Regions from separate parts of the Homo sapiens genome. Here regions 2, 3 and 4 are each linked to region 1. The links are contacts of gene promoters, found by promoter capture Hi-C in blood cells and fetal thymus (Javierre and others, 2016). All regions are on one chromosome and are shown on one strand. The core of a region is centred on a gene start or on the middle of the fragment in contact, and the rest is flanking DNA. Distances in the headings are between cores, read along the strand shown.

Region 1 (3,607 bases), core at 281-2,780:
GAGATGAATGGCACCGCATCCTGTCCTGGAGGCTCTCCATAGATAGGGAAATGTATTTTGGCCCCAGGACTAACAAGTACTGCCTCCTTCCAAATCTGTCTCCATGGTTGAATGCAAAAAGTACATTCCTGTCCCTGTCTTTTCTCTCTCTCCCTTTCTCCTTACCCATTCTTTCTCTTTTTTCTCATCTCCTCTCTCTTCCTCTCTCACCTTCCCAGCCATTTGTCACCTTAAACCTAATTACCTTGTCCAACTAGTAGTGTGAAAAAAACAATTACTGGTTCACTCAGGCCACGGACCTGGTCTTAAATGCTTTTCCTTTGTCTCTCCAAGACCCCACTTCCTCCACATCCAGAACTATCCGACATTTTCCAGCTCAGCCTGGCATTCATTTGCGTTCATTTGCATGCCGTTCTATGATTGGCTGATACAAAGTGGGGGGCGGGGGTGGACACCGTAAACCTCCATTCCTCATGCATTTAATATAACATGTATGAAAAAAAGTATCTATATTTATATCTCGTTTAAGAAAAAAATTGTTCAATGATACTTGTTAAAGCACAATAAGGAAGACTTAATCAGGACAATTCAAGTAGGTATAGAGACCACTGGAACTGTGTCTTGCAATTGGTGAAAACTGGGCTCAACTCTGAATACAACATGGGCAAATGGAAATTTATAGCCAGGAAGCAGGGTGGGGAGCAGTGCATGAAAAATTACTAAGAGGAAACATCAGAGGTAACAGTAGATTCTTGCTGAAGAGGCCAGGGTGATCAGACATCAACTGGGGGATGGTGGAGGATGAGGAACACATCAGATATCAAGAGTGATCACATATCAAAGGTGGGGATTCTTGGTAACTTGATTTAGCAGGGTTTTTTGCTAAAACTGGATTTTTACAGGAAGTACACAGATTGGCCTAGGAGAAGGTTCAGGAGCCTGACTAAAGTTTGCTCAAGCAAAGAATCTTCGTCAATCTGCATAGGAAATATCTAGAAGGCTATATGCCAAAGTTAATGGTGCTTCTCTCCGAAGAAAAAGAAAAACCGTGCATTAAAATTTTAATATGAATAAAAGCAACAGCTCCCATTTAAAGCCCAGAGGTCCTGTTTGGAATCTGACTCGAAACTCTATCCACTTTTTCGGGCGTAGGCTTCTCTTGTGTAAACTGACAATGATAACATCTACCTCCCAGTGTTGTGATACGGGAGACATAAAGTAATGGATATAAAAACTTCTGTTCAGAGCAAGGACGGATAGTCACTGCGATTAGGGTGGGCGACCCGGAGGGGGGTCATGAGCCTGGACCTTGACAGATCTGGTGAGGTCTGGATTTGGTTTGATTCCTGGCTATCTTTTCTTAATATTCAACTGGCTCTACGCTTTTTAACCATTCACTTTCTTCAAGGTAAGTGCGGCAGAAGCCTGGCGCATGCGCAGTACAAGCCCTTAAGCGGCGCCCCGCCCACATACTACTACAACTTCCGGCAGGCTCCGCGCCCGCCTCTGGCGCGTCGCGGGCTGCTGACGTAATGCGGTAGCGCGGGGAATTTCGAGTGGTGTTGGAGCGCCGGAGGCTAGTGGGTGGCTGACCCCCAGCATCCTCGGGAGCGACCATGGACTCCCTGGCCGAGTCTCGGTGGCCTCCGGGCCTGGCAGTCATGAAGGTGAGTGCTTCGGGGAGTTTGGGAGCTCCCGGGTGTCTGCGGGGGGAGGTCCCTCCCTTTGAGGAGGATGTCCTCGCCTTAAGGAGAAAGGATGAGGCGCGAGCGTCGCACTGGGCCCGGGTATCCGGCTCTGCCCTGCCACTAGCCGACCGCGTGGCTCTGGGTCTCAGTTTACTCCTCTGATAAGTGACAAGGACAAGCCTGGTGAGCTGAGGTTGGCAGTCTTATGGCACCAGCTATTCTGCGATCCAATCCCAACAATAACATGGAGAAAAACAGTTATTCCAAACAATGACATCGACAGCTGTTCTTTACTGAAAGCTTACTTTGTGTCAAGCACTAAACAGTGACACCGGACATGATTTTGGGTGGACACTTTATCAGATAACATGTATGTAATCACGTAGCCAAGCAGGTAGTCTCCTTTACAGGCTCTTTCATTTCTTCTGATTATTCTCAATAAACGTAGTGCTCGTTTGTTCTGACATACTGCCCCAACTCCTCTCTAACACACCTTCACTCTTCTCTAACAATTGCTCATGTCTCTTAAACAGAGATCAGGACTCAGGCTCAGCGCTGATCTTGCATTGCGTCTGATTATTTCACTTAAATAACATTTATTTTTGTGGCCACTTTCTGTTTTGGCAAGGCATACCAGTTTCCATTTACAGTAGTGGTGGGCCCTGGATTTGCTCAAGAGCAGATGCACTTTGCTGTGCTGGATAAAGATCAGTTGCTTGGTGTTTCTTCTTGCTCTGTGATTATTTCCGTTTCTCACAGTGGCTAAGATAGCCTTCTTCTCCCTCAGTTTTGTAGACTTGGGGATTATAATACCTGTCCCACTGACTCATAAATTTGACTTTAGAATTAAGTGAAGGCTAAAGTAAGTAGAAGGCCTTGTTCTTCCTGCTGTCATCAGTGACGTCTAGAGTGCTTGGGGACTTGAGATATCTGCATGATGAGAAGCTGACATTGTGAAATGATCCAGGAAAGCTGTAGTTTTGGAGTTGTGGGCTTGGCACCAGGATGCAGTGGAGAAGAGCACAGATTTGAGTTCCAGTGGTCCTGGGTGAAATCTCCTGTCTGCCTCTTGACTGTATGACCTTCGGTTAGTAACTTAACCTCTCTGAGCCTGAATTTCTTCAACTATAAATTAGAGACAAAAATAACAGTTCATAGGATTGATTAAATAAATTAGTTGATGTATGTGGGCACAGATTCTGCTGTGTATTCACTGTGCTTACTGCAGTGCCTGACACCAAGTGGGTGCTCAAATATTATTTGCTGCTTGATTGAAAGTATCTGGAATGTAGTAAGCATTCAATGAATATATTTTATTATTATTAGCACTGTGTTAAGTGCTTCTTTCCCCTTTTAATTTGTTGTCATGAAGCTTGACTTGGATAAGGAAAGTAAAAGAGCTCTGTAACCTGTAAAGCTCCTGCTTTGTAGATTTAAGCACACTTTACATATTCCCACAATTTCAGTGTTCTTTAGAGGCGGGTTCCATGTCTTCTCTGACTTTGGTATCTCACCACAGCACTGAATGTAGAGTTTGGCACCACAGAGCGTTCAGTGAGTGTTCAACCAGAGAGTTGATTGAGCCCGTATTTTTTTGCTCACATTGGAATCATGGAATCTTAAGGTTAGAAAACCAGCCCCTTTCAGTATTTTAATCTCCTTTATAACACATCTGCCAATTTCTCACCTAATTTTTGCTTGAACTCTTCCAGGCACAAAGAACTATCAGATCCCAGAAGCAGATCTGACTGAAGTTACTTCTTTTATTGAATAGAAGTCTGACTCAGAATCCATGGTTGCTAACTTAGGATTCACAGAAAGACTTTGGAGTCTCAAGTTATTTGTAAAATTTTTGCATGTATGTTTTTCTGAGCAGAGAGTCCATAGTTGTCATCCATTTTTCAAAGGGATCTGTAACC
Region 2 (3,607 bases), core at 628-3,127, 2.9 Mb before region 1:
CAGATCGCAGGGGTTCATGCCAGAGACAGACTTGGTATATGGTAACTAATTCTTTCTCTTCTAACTCAGTTCTTTGCCAATTCAGTTTCTCCCAAAATTCAGGGCCAGTTCTACAGAGAGATAAAGTGGGCAGCTGCTGACCAGCTTGAATTTCAGGGATAGTGGAGAATCAGAAGGGTAAACACATACGTAGTACTCACTACATGTCAGAGATTGATCTAACCAGCTTAGTTGTCATGACAACTCTGGGAGGTAGACGCTCTTATTATCCCCATTTTATACTTGTGGAAACTGAGACACAGAGCCAACTTGCACCAGGTCACACAGATCATCAGTGGCTGAGAATTGAAACCAAGCAGTCTCAATCCAGATTCCACATTCTGCCTCTCAGATGAGATACCTGCTCTGTTCTTTGGAATTCCACCATTATTTATTCATTTCTTTGGTACTGTAAAAGTCCATGGTCTTCCTGAACTCCACTGGAAAACTCAGTGTCCCCCTAGAAGGAGGATTCTAAGACCCAGTATGGAGGCAATTCTTTCTTCTTAGAATTTTTTCACGGTGTACTCTCTGGTGAACTGCTGGTCATCTTCCAAGGTCTAATCCAAATGTCATCCCTCTAAGAAGCTTTCCCAGAAACCCTGAAGAAAAAGTAACCCCTGCTGTCTTACCATTGCGGTGGTATAGATCTGGTTTATACTCTCCATAGTGTATTTTTTTTTGCATGCATGTGAATTTTTTGCCACCAGACTATAACATTTGCAAATGCAGAAATTTTGTTTCAGGCACTGTACTAGGCACTAAAGGACAGAAAGATTAATAAGATATGGTTCCTGACCTCAAAGGGCCCCTAAGCCTTTTATAATTGTACTTGATGGACATATCTGATATTTAAGACAAGAGCTAGAGAGCTAAAAGCAAAGGGTTAGGAAGGCACAGAGAACAGAACACTTTGATAGCTGAGCTGGGACTAAAGGATGAGGAAGGTTTCAATGGGAGAATGAATCAATGAATGAATGGGTCCCTTGGTGAAATGAACACCCCGTGTTATTTTTCTCGTGCAAGAGGAAAGGGATTGGACTTGGAGGCTGTATTAGCAGCTGCCATTAGCCCTGTGACTTCAGGCACATCAATTCTTTTTTCTAAGCTTCAGTTTATCCATCTGTAAAACTGAAATAGTAGCTACTAATTTCCCAGGATTTGTTTTAAGAGCTAAATAAAATCATGTCTGCAAAGTGCTTTGTGTAAAATGCTAAACGCCATAAAGATGTAGGTATAATTATGCTTCTTAATTCCTTTTGTACATTGTCTCTTAAGAATTCAGGAGGATGTCCTCCGTTTATTGAAAGCTTACTCCAGGCACTATTCTATGTACTTTCTAGATACTGTTTCATTTGCTGTCACAACAACCCTGTGAGTGAGGTGTCATTACTCTCCCCAGGCTGCAGATGAGGAAAGGAAAGCACAGAGAGGCTAAGTCTTCTTGTCCAAGGTCACACAGCTATTAAATCCTGGGGCCTGGATTCCAACCCAGGTGGTACCTTCAAGCCCCTGATCAGACACTAAAGATGTATTAAGATGCTCTCAGTTGGCTGGGCATAGTGGCTCACGCCTGTAATTCCAGCACTTTGGGAGGCCTAGGTGGGTGGATTGTTCGAGCTCAAGGGTTCAAGACCAGCCTGGACAACATGGTGAAACCCCATTCTCTACAAAAATACAAAAATTAGCCTGGTGTGGTAGTACATGCCTGTAATCCCAGCTACTCAGGAGGCTGAGGTGGGAGGATCACTCGAGCCTGGGAGGCAGAGGTTACAGTGAGCCGAGATCGTGCCACTGCACTCCAGCCTGGGTGACAGAGTGAAACCCTGTCTCAAAAAAAAAAAAAAAAAAAAAAGAAAAGAAAAGAAAAAAAGAAAAGAAAAGAAAGAAAAGAAAAGAAAAAACGAAAAAATGCTCCCAGTCTGTCCCAGTTCTAACCATCAATCAGCCGAGAATGGACAAATGGGACAGGGTGACCCACCTCTGACAAGATGGAGATCAAGACCCCTCTCCTTCCCCTCCATCAGCAGACCAATTGAACATGTGGCTAATTGTAAGAACCACTGAGCCTGGATTTTTATTCTTCCCCAAACATTTTTCTCTCCTGTACTTAAACACTGATTAGAAAAAAAAAAAAAAAGCATTAAAGCCATAGATGTTTTTTTACAGGGCTTTAAAAAAAATGGATTACATGGATTCGATGAACCTTCTCCTAGTGAAAGCCTGACAAGGTCATTATTAAGGAATACAAAGACAACTGCTAGATAAATCAGAAGAATGAGGCCCAATATTCACTCGAGTCACCAGGCATTTATCTATATTTGTAAGTGGCTCTCTAACATGTTTATTTCATTGGTATAAGCTTTCCAACAGAACCCTAAAGCGATTATATAGAACACTGGGTCTTCCTAATAGCCTCTAATTTCACAAGCCATGGTAATTTAAAAGAGAGTGGGTGGATGAAGGGCCAGGAGCAGGGAGATTTCTGCTGAAGAATACAAATGTGTTCGTGGCTACGTTGCTTCTGCCTCTTTCTGGGGAAAGGCAAAATGCACACAGGAATGTGATGGAACCTTCCAGCTGGTGGTTTTGCATTGCAGGAAGAAAAGTGTTTGTGAACATGAAAATTGCTGATAATTGGGTGTGAACGCCTGTAAGGGAGACAAATGGAGAAACATTGCAGCATCTTTATTTCTATCAAGGGCTGAACTCTGCTGGTGGGTGTGTGAATTGGCACCATCTTTTGGAGGGGAATTTAGCAGCGTGCTGACACTCTGACCCAGCAATTCCCCTTCTAGGAATCTGTCTTATAGCAATACTTGTTCATGCACATAAAATGTACAAGGATGCTCATGATAGCATTGTTTGCAGGTGTGAAAACTAGAAATAACCTACATCCATCAACAATAAAATGTTTAAACAGGCCAGGATGCCTGTAACCCCAGCACTTTGGGAGGCCGAGGCGGGTGGATCACTTGAGGTCAGGAGTTCGAGACCAGCCTGGCCAACATAGTGAAACCCCTGTCTCTACGAAAAATACAAAACTTAGCCAGATGTGGTGGCGGGCACCTGTAATCCCAGCTACTCAGGAGGCTGAGGCAGGAGAATCACTTCAACCCGGATGGTGGAGGTTGCAGGGAGCCTAGATTGTGCCACTGCACTCCAGCCTGGGTGACAGAGCAAGACTCGCTCTCAAAAAAAAAAAAAAAAAAAGAAAGAAACAAAAGAAAAGAAGAAAGAAAGAAAGAGAAAGAAAATGTTTAAACACTTTCTTTTAAACAAAAAATTTTAAACAAAATTATGGCATATCCATATCTTAGAATAATTTGCTACTAATACATGGAATGAGGGAAATCTATATATTCTGACACAGAACATTGTCCCTGATACGCTAAGTGCAAAAAAAGCAAATTGCAAAATAGTATCTATCCTAGGAATCCACTTAAAATTGTTTTTAATGTTAATATATTCATAGAAAAATATTGGAAGGAATATGTGCCAAAGATTACCGTGGCTATTTCTGGGGCATGATGTATGTATTTCATAATGTTTACATTTTTATGAACAT
Region 3 (3,607 bases), core at 895-3,394, 2.3 Mb before region 1:
TAGTCAAGAATAAATGTTTCTTTCTGAAAGCATTCTGGTAGCTACTAGTGACAATATCTGGTCATTAATATAGCATTTTAATGAAGAGATTAAAGTTAACACCAGCAGCAACGTGACAAACAGACACTGTGTGCTATCTGATAGAATGCCATGGAAAGAACACAGCATCTGTGGTGTTTGGATGAAAATACACAACCTGGATCTCATGGGAGGAAACATCAGATAAACCCAAGTTGAAAAACATTCTACAAAATGACCAGGATTATAGTCTTCAGAAGTGCCATGGTCTTAAAAGTCAAAGGGAGACAAGGAGCTGTCCCAGACTGAAAGAGACCACAAAGACGTGACAGCTGGGGACCACGTGTGATCCTGGGATGATGCTCCACTATAAAAGGACATTATTGGGACAAAAACTGAATGGGAGTCTCTGGGAGATGGATAAATAGAAGGTATCTGTCTTATTCTTGTAGAATTTCTGTAAGTTTGAAACTGTTCCAAAATAAAATAGTAAGAATAATTTTATCTTACTATTAAGATAAAAGCTGTGTGTCACACACAGCTTTATACGTTGTTCAACAGGCAAAACCAATCAACCTGACAGAAGTTAGAATGGTGATTACAGGGTGAGGTGGAGCTACTGACTTGAGAAGGCCACGAGGAAGGCTCCTGGGGAGATGGAAATATTCTGTATCTTGAGCTGGGTGGTGGTTACAAGGCATATACCTATGTAAAAAGCCACAAGCTAAACATTTGCTATCAGTGCACTTTATGTATGTTATCCATGAATAAAGAAGTAAAATAGGGCTGGGTGCAGTGGCTCACACCTGTAATCCCCACACTTTGGGAGGCTGAAGGAGGACTGCTTGAGCCCAGGAGTTCAAGACCAGCCTGGGCAACACGGTGGGCCCCCATCTCTACAAAAAATAAAAAAAAATTGCCAGGCACCTGTAGTCCCAGCTACTTGGGAGGCTGAGGTGGGAGGTGGGAGGATCACTTGAACCCAGGAGGTCGAGTCTGCAGTGAGCCGTGATTGTGCCACTGAACTCCAGCCTGCGTGACAGGGTGAGAATCTGTCACAGGAAGGAATTTAAAAAAAAAAAAAAGGCCGGGCTTTTAAAAAAAAAAAAAAAAAAAAGGTGGCTCACACCTGTAATCCTAGCACTCTGGGAGGCCGAGGTGGGCAAATCATGAGGTCAGGAGATCAAGACCATCCTGGCTAACACGGTGAAACCCCGTCTCTACTGAAAATACAAAAAAAAAATTAGCTGGGCATGGTGGCGGGCGCCTATAGTCCCAACTACTTGGGAGGCTGAGGCAGGAGAATGGCGTGAACCCGGGAGGCGGAGCTTGCAGTGAGCCAAGATTGCGCACCTGCACTCCAGCCTGGGCGACAGAGCAAGACTCCGTCTCAAAAAAAAAAAAAAAGGCCAGGCACAGTGGCTCACACTTGTAATCCTAGCACTTTGGGAGGCCAAAGCAGGATGATCACTTGAGCCCAGACAAGACCACTCTAGGCAACATAGTAAGATATCATCTCCACAAATAATTTTAAAAAATTATTATGGAGTGGTGGTGCACGCCTGTGGTCCCGACTACTCAGGAGGCTGAGACAGGAGGATCGCCTGAGCCCAGGCAATCCAAGCTGCAGTGAGCCATGACTGCACCACTGTATTCCAGCCTGGGCAACAGAGCAAGACCCCGTCTCAAAAAATAAAATAAAATAAAAAAGTAGAACAAAACCCCTATCTTTAAACCATACCAGTCCTACGAAGAGAACCTTCATTTATTCATCCAACAGTTAACAGATGACCTACTTAAATTTAGCTTTGGTAAAAAGCAATTCATTACTCTAAATAAGTAGCCTAAATGAGAAATCATTTCCATAAAGTTTTCTGGCATTTTGTGACTAAAGAAGCTAAGGATGGAATTATTTTGGCTTGGCTGCTTATAGAATTAATTGAAGCAGGAGTGCTTCCTGGAGTGAGACCGCCCAACCATTCTCCCTCTAGGATTGGACACAGCAAATAATCAAGCCAGTATAGGATTTTTTAAAATGAAGAAGTGTAGGATATTTTTTAATGAAGAAATACAGGATTTTTTAAATGAAGAAGTAATTCACTTTAAAGTGAAGAAGTAATTGTAGAAAATAAAAAACAGAGGGAGAGAAAAAAACAAAAACAAAAAGAACCTGTCTTTAGGGGAAGCTAGACACACAGGCCTCTAGTTTCCATAAACCAGCCTGACAATGCTAAAAATTATCACACTCTGATTTTTCTGTGTGTTTTAGTTTTTTGTCTGTTTGCTTTAGGAGAGCAGGGGAGTTTTTTTGGTTTGTTTTTCTTTGAGACAGAGTCTCGTTCTGTCGTCCAGGCTGGAGTGCAATGGCGTGATCTCGGCTCACTGCAACCTCCGTCTACCGGGTTCAAGCGATTCTCCTGCCTTGGCCTCCCACATAGCTGGGATTACAGGCATGCGCCACCATGCCCAGCTAATATTTGTATTTTTAGTAGGGTTTTGCTTTGTTGGCCAGGCTGGTCTCAAACTCCTGACCCCAGGTGATCCACCTGCCTTGGCCTCCCAAAGTGCTAGGATTACTAGGCGTGAGCCACCATGTCCACCACAAGCAGGAGAGTTTTTAATGGTTCAGGGAAAGGATGCTAAAAGGAGAGGTAATGTAATGCAGTCAGGAATCAGGTCTTTATACAGATGAACCCGAGTGTGGATTCCACCTCCACCTCCTATTGGCTGAGAAGCCTAGGGCAGGTTAGGGCAGGTTCCTTCACCCCCCTGCACCTGGATTTACTCAGGTGTAAGATAAGGACAGGTATAACTACTCTAGAACTTGCTGGGAGGGCTAAATGTTTGTGAGGTGCTTGCTACAGTGCCTGGCATACAGCAAGCAGTCAATAAATGGTAGCTGCTGGTAGTTTTTCTTGTCACTGCCCCATATTAGCCAACAATGCCTGACTAATGTGGTTCCCCTTCCCCATGCTCACTATGAAAATTTCCTCTGCCTAAAACATGCCTCATTTAAAGCCTACCTCCCTCAAAAGAGCTCTGCAAGCACAACAGAGGCTTAATTAAAAGGAAATGGTCAGTCTCCCACTACAGGTCATCGAGAAGTCCAAAAGAACAAGTTCTAAAGGGCAGCGAGCACTCAGTGTCCGATTTCTCTGAGCCCATGTGGGGCCATTCACTTAGCAGAAGTGCCAGAATAACTGCAATTTGGCCCTGAAGTGCCTTCTCTGGGCCAAAATGGAGCACACAGAGCAGGCTTCTATTCTCATTTTCCCAGCTGCAGGGCTGCAAGCTCTGGCAGTCATTAAAATAAGCACCAAACCACATGACCAAGTCCCGCTGACAAACAGCATATGTTCTTAGCTGCTGATGTGTAAAAAGGAGGTAGAGATCACCAGGAGTCGGGAGGGGGCTGCTTTGGCATATGGAGCCAATGCACATTTTATAGACAAATGATGCTTCTGCAACCTCATGAGTTTCAGAAACAATCTGCAAGGCTGTTAAAGAGGGAGGTTTAAAGCCTTCTCTTCCAAAAGAAGGGAAAAAGTTCTAAACTTAGAAGAAAGAGTAGGCTCTACCGGAAGATGAG
Region 4 (3,607 bases), core at 783-3,282, 2.3 Mb before region 1:
GTCTCAACCTTACTTTACTCAGCCACTACTTGACATGGAGTTGCTCTGGTTCAAATGCCTCTGACACAGTGATAGAAGTCAGATCAGTAGATCAGTCATTCCTAGGAGCAGAGTGGGGCATGGTCAACAAATGGGCATGAGGAGCTTTCTGGGGTGATAGAAATGTTCTACAGCTTAAATGAGGTAGGGCTGACACAGGTATACACATTCATCAAAACTCATCAAACTCTGCTTTTAACATGGGTGCATTTTATTGTATGTATTGTGTGTAACAAACTTGATTTTATTTTATTTTTTATTTATTTATTTGAGACAGAGTCTCACTCTGTTGGCCAGGCTGGAGTGTAGTGGCACAATCTCGGCTCACTGCAACCTCCATCTCCCAGGCTCAACCAATTCTCCTGCCTCAGCCTCCCAAGTAGCCGGGATTACAGGCATGTGCCACTACACCCGGCTAATTTTCGTGTTTTTAGTAGAGATGGGGTTTCACCATGTTGGCCAGGCTGGTCTCAAACTCCTGACCTCAGGTAATCTGCCCCTCTTCGGCCTCCCAAAGTGCTGGGATTACAAGCATGAGCCACTGCACCTGGCTGATTTTAAAAACAAACAGTAGGGATGTCACCTCTTATATGAAGGCATGCCTTATACCCACCACCTCTAGGCTTTACTCTATTGAGCATATATGAGCCTAAGTTAAAGTTAGTTCTTTATAAGTTTGACTCTACTGCTGGGTTTTGTGATTTTATAATGAACACCTTTTAAAGCTTCTGCCGAACTCACAGTAATCCTTGCTTCTCTGGGAACTGCTGATTCTCCAGCTATGTTTGTACCACCTGTGCCACCCCAGCCTCCACCCCCTCCAGAGTTGACTGGAGTAAAGTGGACACAGGACGATTCTTTATCCTGAGTTTGGGACTTTTGAACTGATGTTCATAGAGTGGGAATAGGATTAGTTTATGTAGATCATTGGCAGTATCCTAGAGAGGGAGTTTCCTTGAATTCTTAGCTTGAGATTCCTATGGCTGACTTGTCTCAAGCCCTCCTCAAGGCAAAGTCATCCAAAGTATCACTAGATTCCACAAAGCATGCCATGCTATGTGGCTTGAACATTTGTCCTCTCCAAAACTCATGTTAAAATTTAATTGCCATTGTGATCATATTGGGAAGTGGGATCTTTAAGAAGTGTTTAGGTCATGGGTTTCCACTCTCATGAATGCACTAATGCTGTTATCATGGGAGTGAGTTCTTTATTACAGGAGTGGGATTGCTCCCTTTTGCTCTCTCTTGCCCTCTCTTTGCTCTTCCATCATGTCATGATGCATCAGGAAGGTCCTCACCAGATGCCAGCACATTGATATTAGACTTACCAGCCTCCAGAACTGTGAGCCAATAAATTTCTATTCATTATAAATTACCCAGTCTGTGATATTCTGTTATAGGAGCACAAAACAGACTTAAGATACTCTAGTAACTATTCACAAAGTTGATTTCTGTCACTTGCAAACCTGAAGTAGCTCCACAGGGTTGAAATCATGTCTTTCTGGCTCAGGCCAGACATAAGAAGTGCTGGAAAAATATTTGTTAATTAACAGATAAGGTCTGGGAATCCAAAATAGATATGGGGACCAGAGCTAATGATTGCTCAGACGACAAATGAGGCTTCCTTGTTAGCAGGAAGATAGGGTGAGGCTAAGGAAGAAGACCTGCCTCTGCTGCCTGGAATGGGATAGGCAGACCATTGGGGCTCCAAGACCATGGAGCATTAAGAAAGATGCAGACCCAGGAGACTTAAAGAGGCAGAGAATGTTCTCAGACACAGCAGGGTCATGAGGCCCTGTGACACTTATTCAAGGCTACAGTGATTCAGGTCAATCCACCTTCATCATTTGTCTTGCATCTGAGTTGAGAAGAGTACATGCTCCCCACAATGAGAATTATATGTCACGTCAAGCTAGGCTTTGAAAGCCTGACAAATTGTGGAATGATAAATATTGGCAAATAAGATCTTTAACAGCATGTTTCTATATTTTATTTTATTTTATATTTCATTTCATTTCATTTCATTTTAAGACAGAGTCTCTCTCTGTCACCCAGGCTGGAGTGCAGTGGCCCAATCTTGGTTCACTGCAGCCTCAACTTTCTGGGCTCAAGTGATCCTCCTGCCTCAGCCCCCCAAGTAGTTGGGACTGCAGGTGTGCGTCACAGCCCCTGGCTAATTTTTTATTTTTAGTAGAGACAGGATTTCACCATGGTGCCCAGGCTTGTCTCGAACTCCTGGACTCCAGCCATCTGCCCGCGTCAGCCTCCCAGTGTGCTGGGATTACAGGCATGAGCCACCATGCCTTGCCAACAGCATGTCTCTATGGCACTTAGGGTGCATAAATAGCCAGGAGCATCCCAGCATCTTTTTCATGCTGAGTTAAGACTATTAAATCCACCTCCTGGAAGTCCATGCAGTGCCCATCTTCAAAAGAGGTCAGAGATTGTCCACAAGCCAAGTAGCCAAATGACCAATTTATTAAAGCCATTAGCCACTGATGGGCTGGGGCTTTCTTAGTGGGCTGGGGCTGACATTTCTGTATCATAGTCTGTTGTCTTTTATACATTCAAAAATTAATTTCCATCGTTCAGACAGGAGTACGAAGAGCAGATTGATAAAGTGGAAAGGAAGCACATTCCAGAATCAGACCTCGGAGCAGTTCCTCAATCTCTCTGGGCCTCAGTTTGCCTATTTGTAAAGATGGAAATCTCCCTCATGAGGTTGTTGTAAAGGCAACATTACATAATGGCACCAATACCATTAGATAACATTAGATAAAACACAAAGCCTGGCACATGGTATGTGCTCAGCATGTTTTAAAAATGCATAGGAGTGCCCTCTGTATACCAGACACTATACAAGCACTAGAGACACTGTATACAATAATGCATAGACCTTGTTCCTTAGACGCTGGTAATTTATATTTATTGACCATTTCTTGTTCTTGTCAGACTCAAATCCAGGTCTCTCTGACCCAGAGGCAGAGCTCACAATCAGTTCTCTCCACTAGTTGCCTTGATTGTTCAAGGTAAATAATGGACACTTAGCCACTTGTCTGTGTGAAGTGCTCTTTTCGAGTGTTCTTTGGTCCTGAGGGACCCTGAGGAGCAACTCTCTCACAGGGAGGTCTTCTGAACAATGGTTTCTGACCTGGAAACAGACCAGCTGCAGCTTCTGAAACCGGGATTAAAGTCTCCTAAACTCCCCCCGTTTTGAACAAGAAGTTTGGGGGATGCAAAGCAGAGTGAGAATGAAGCTTTTTACAAAAAGTAAATCCTTTTGAAAAGACATTTACAAATGTGATGAGAAACCAAAGAGAAAGCCCATATCAAACTCTGTTAACATTTGATGGTACATTTCAAAACATCTTCTTAGTCCAAGAGACTCAGAAAGGTAGAAATAAATAAATCACATAGAGTATGCTTTTAAACATCATATTTTAGGCAGGTAAAAATATCTCACTTTGACAGATCATGCAAAGAGGAACACAAAATACAAAACATCAGCTTGTACAGGCACTCCATATGCTATACATATTGTGGTTTAGCACCAAGCTTTAAAATATAA

The links. Contacts are between HindIII fragments. The CHiCAGO score rates a contact against its expected background, and 5 or more counts as called.
Region 2: a fragment that was not itself captured here is called in contact with the fragment with the promoter of RAD18 in region 1 in 1 of 17 cell types (total B cells); the score reaches 5.9 in total B cells.
Region 3: a contact is called between a fragment that was not itself captured here and the fragment with the promoter of RAD18 in region 1, in 1 of 17 cell types (total B cells). The highest score is 5.5, in total B cells.
Region 4: a fragment that was not itself captured here is called in contact with the fragment with the promoter of RAD18 in region 1 in 5 of 17 cell types (non-activated CD4 T cells, naive B cells, total CD4 T cells and 2 more); the score reaches 8.7 in non-activated CD4 T cells.

What each region holds. Positions count from the first base shown.
Region 1 is chr3:8,961,395-8,965,001 of GRCh38, reverse strand. RAD18 (RAD18 E3 ubiquitin protein ligase) reads left to right here and starts at 1,530. Exons shown (of 13, transcript NM_020165.4): 1 at 1,530-1,667. The coding sequence starts at 1,617. RefSeq lists an enhancer at 1,513-1,682. The HindIII fragment of the contact is 5,728 bases long and covers 1-1,990 here.
Region 2 is chr3:11,849,292-11,852,898 of GRCh38, reverse strand. No RefSeq gene overlaps it. Among named protein-coding and RNA genes, the nearest start is that of TAMM41, 4.2 kb to the right of the region's middle. The HindIII fragment of the contact is 1,052 bases long and covers 1,352-2,403 here.
Region 3 is chr3:11,282,668-11,286,274 of GRCh38, reverse strand. All of the region lies in intron 3 of ATG7 (autophagy related 7), which reads right to left. Among named protein-coding and RNA genes, the nearest start is that of ATG7, 12 kb to the right of the region's middle. The HindIII fragment of the contact is 7,946 bases long and covers 1-3,607 here.
Region 4 is chr3:11,262,146-11,265,752 of GRCh38, reverse strand. It overlaps HRH1 (histamine receptor H1), which reads right to left. Exons shown (of 2, transcript NM_001098212.2): 2 at 2,196-3,607. Among named protein-coding and RNA genes, the nearest start is that of ATG7, 8.4 kb to the left of the region's middle. The HindIII fragment of the contact is 2,532 bases long and covers 767-3,298 here.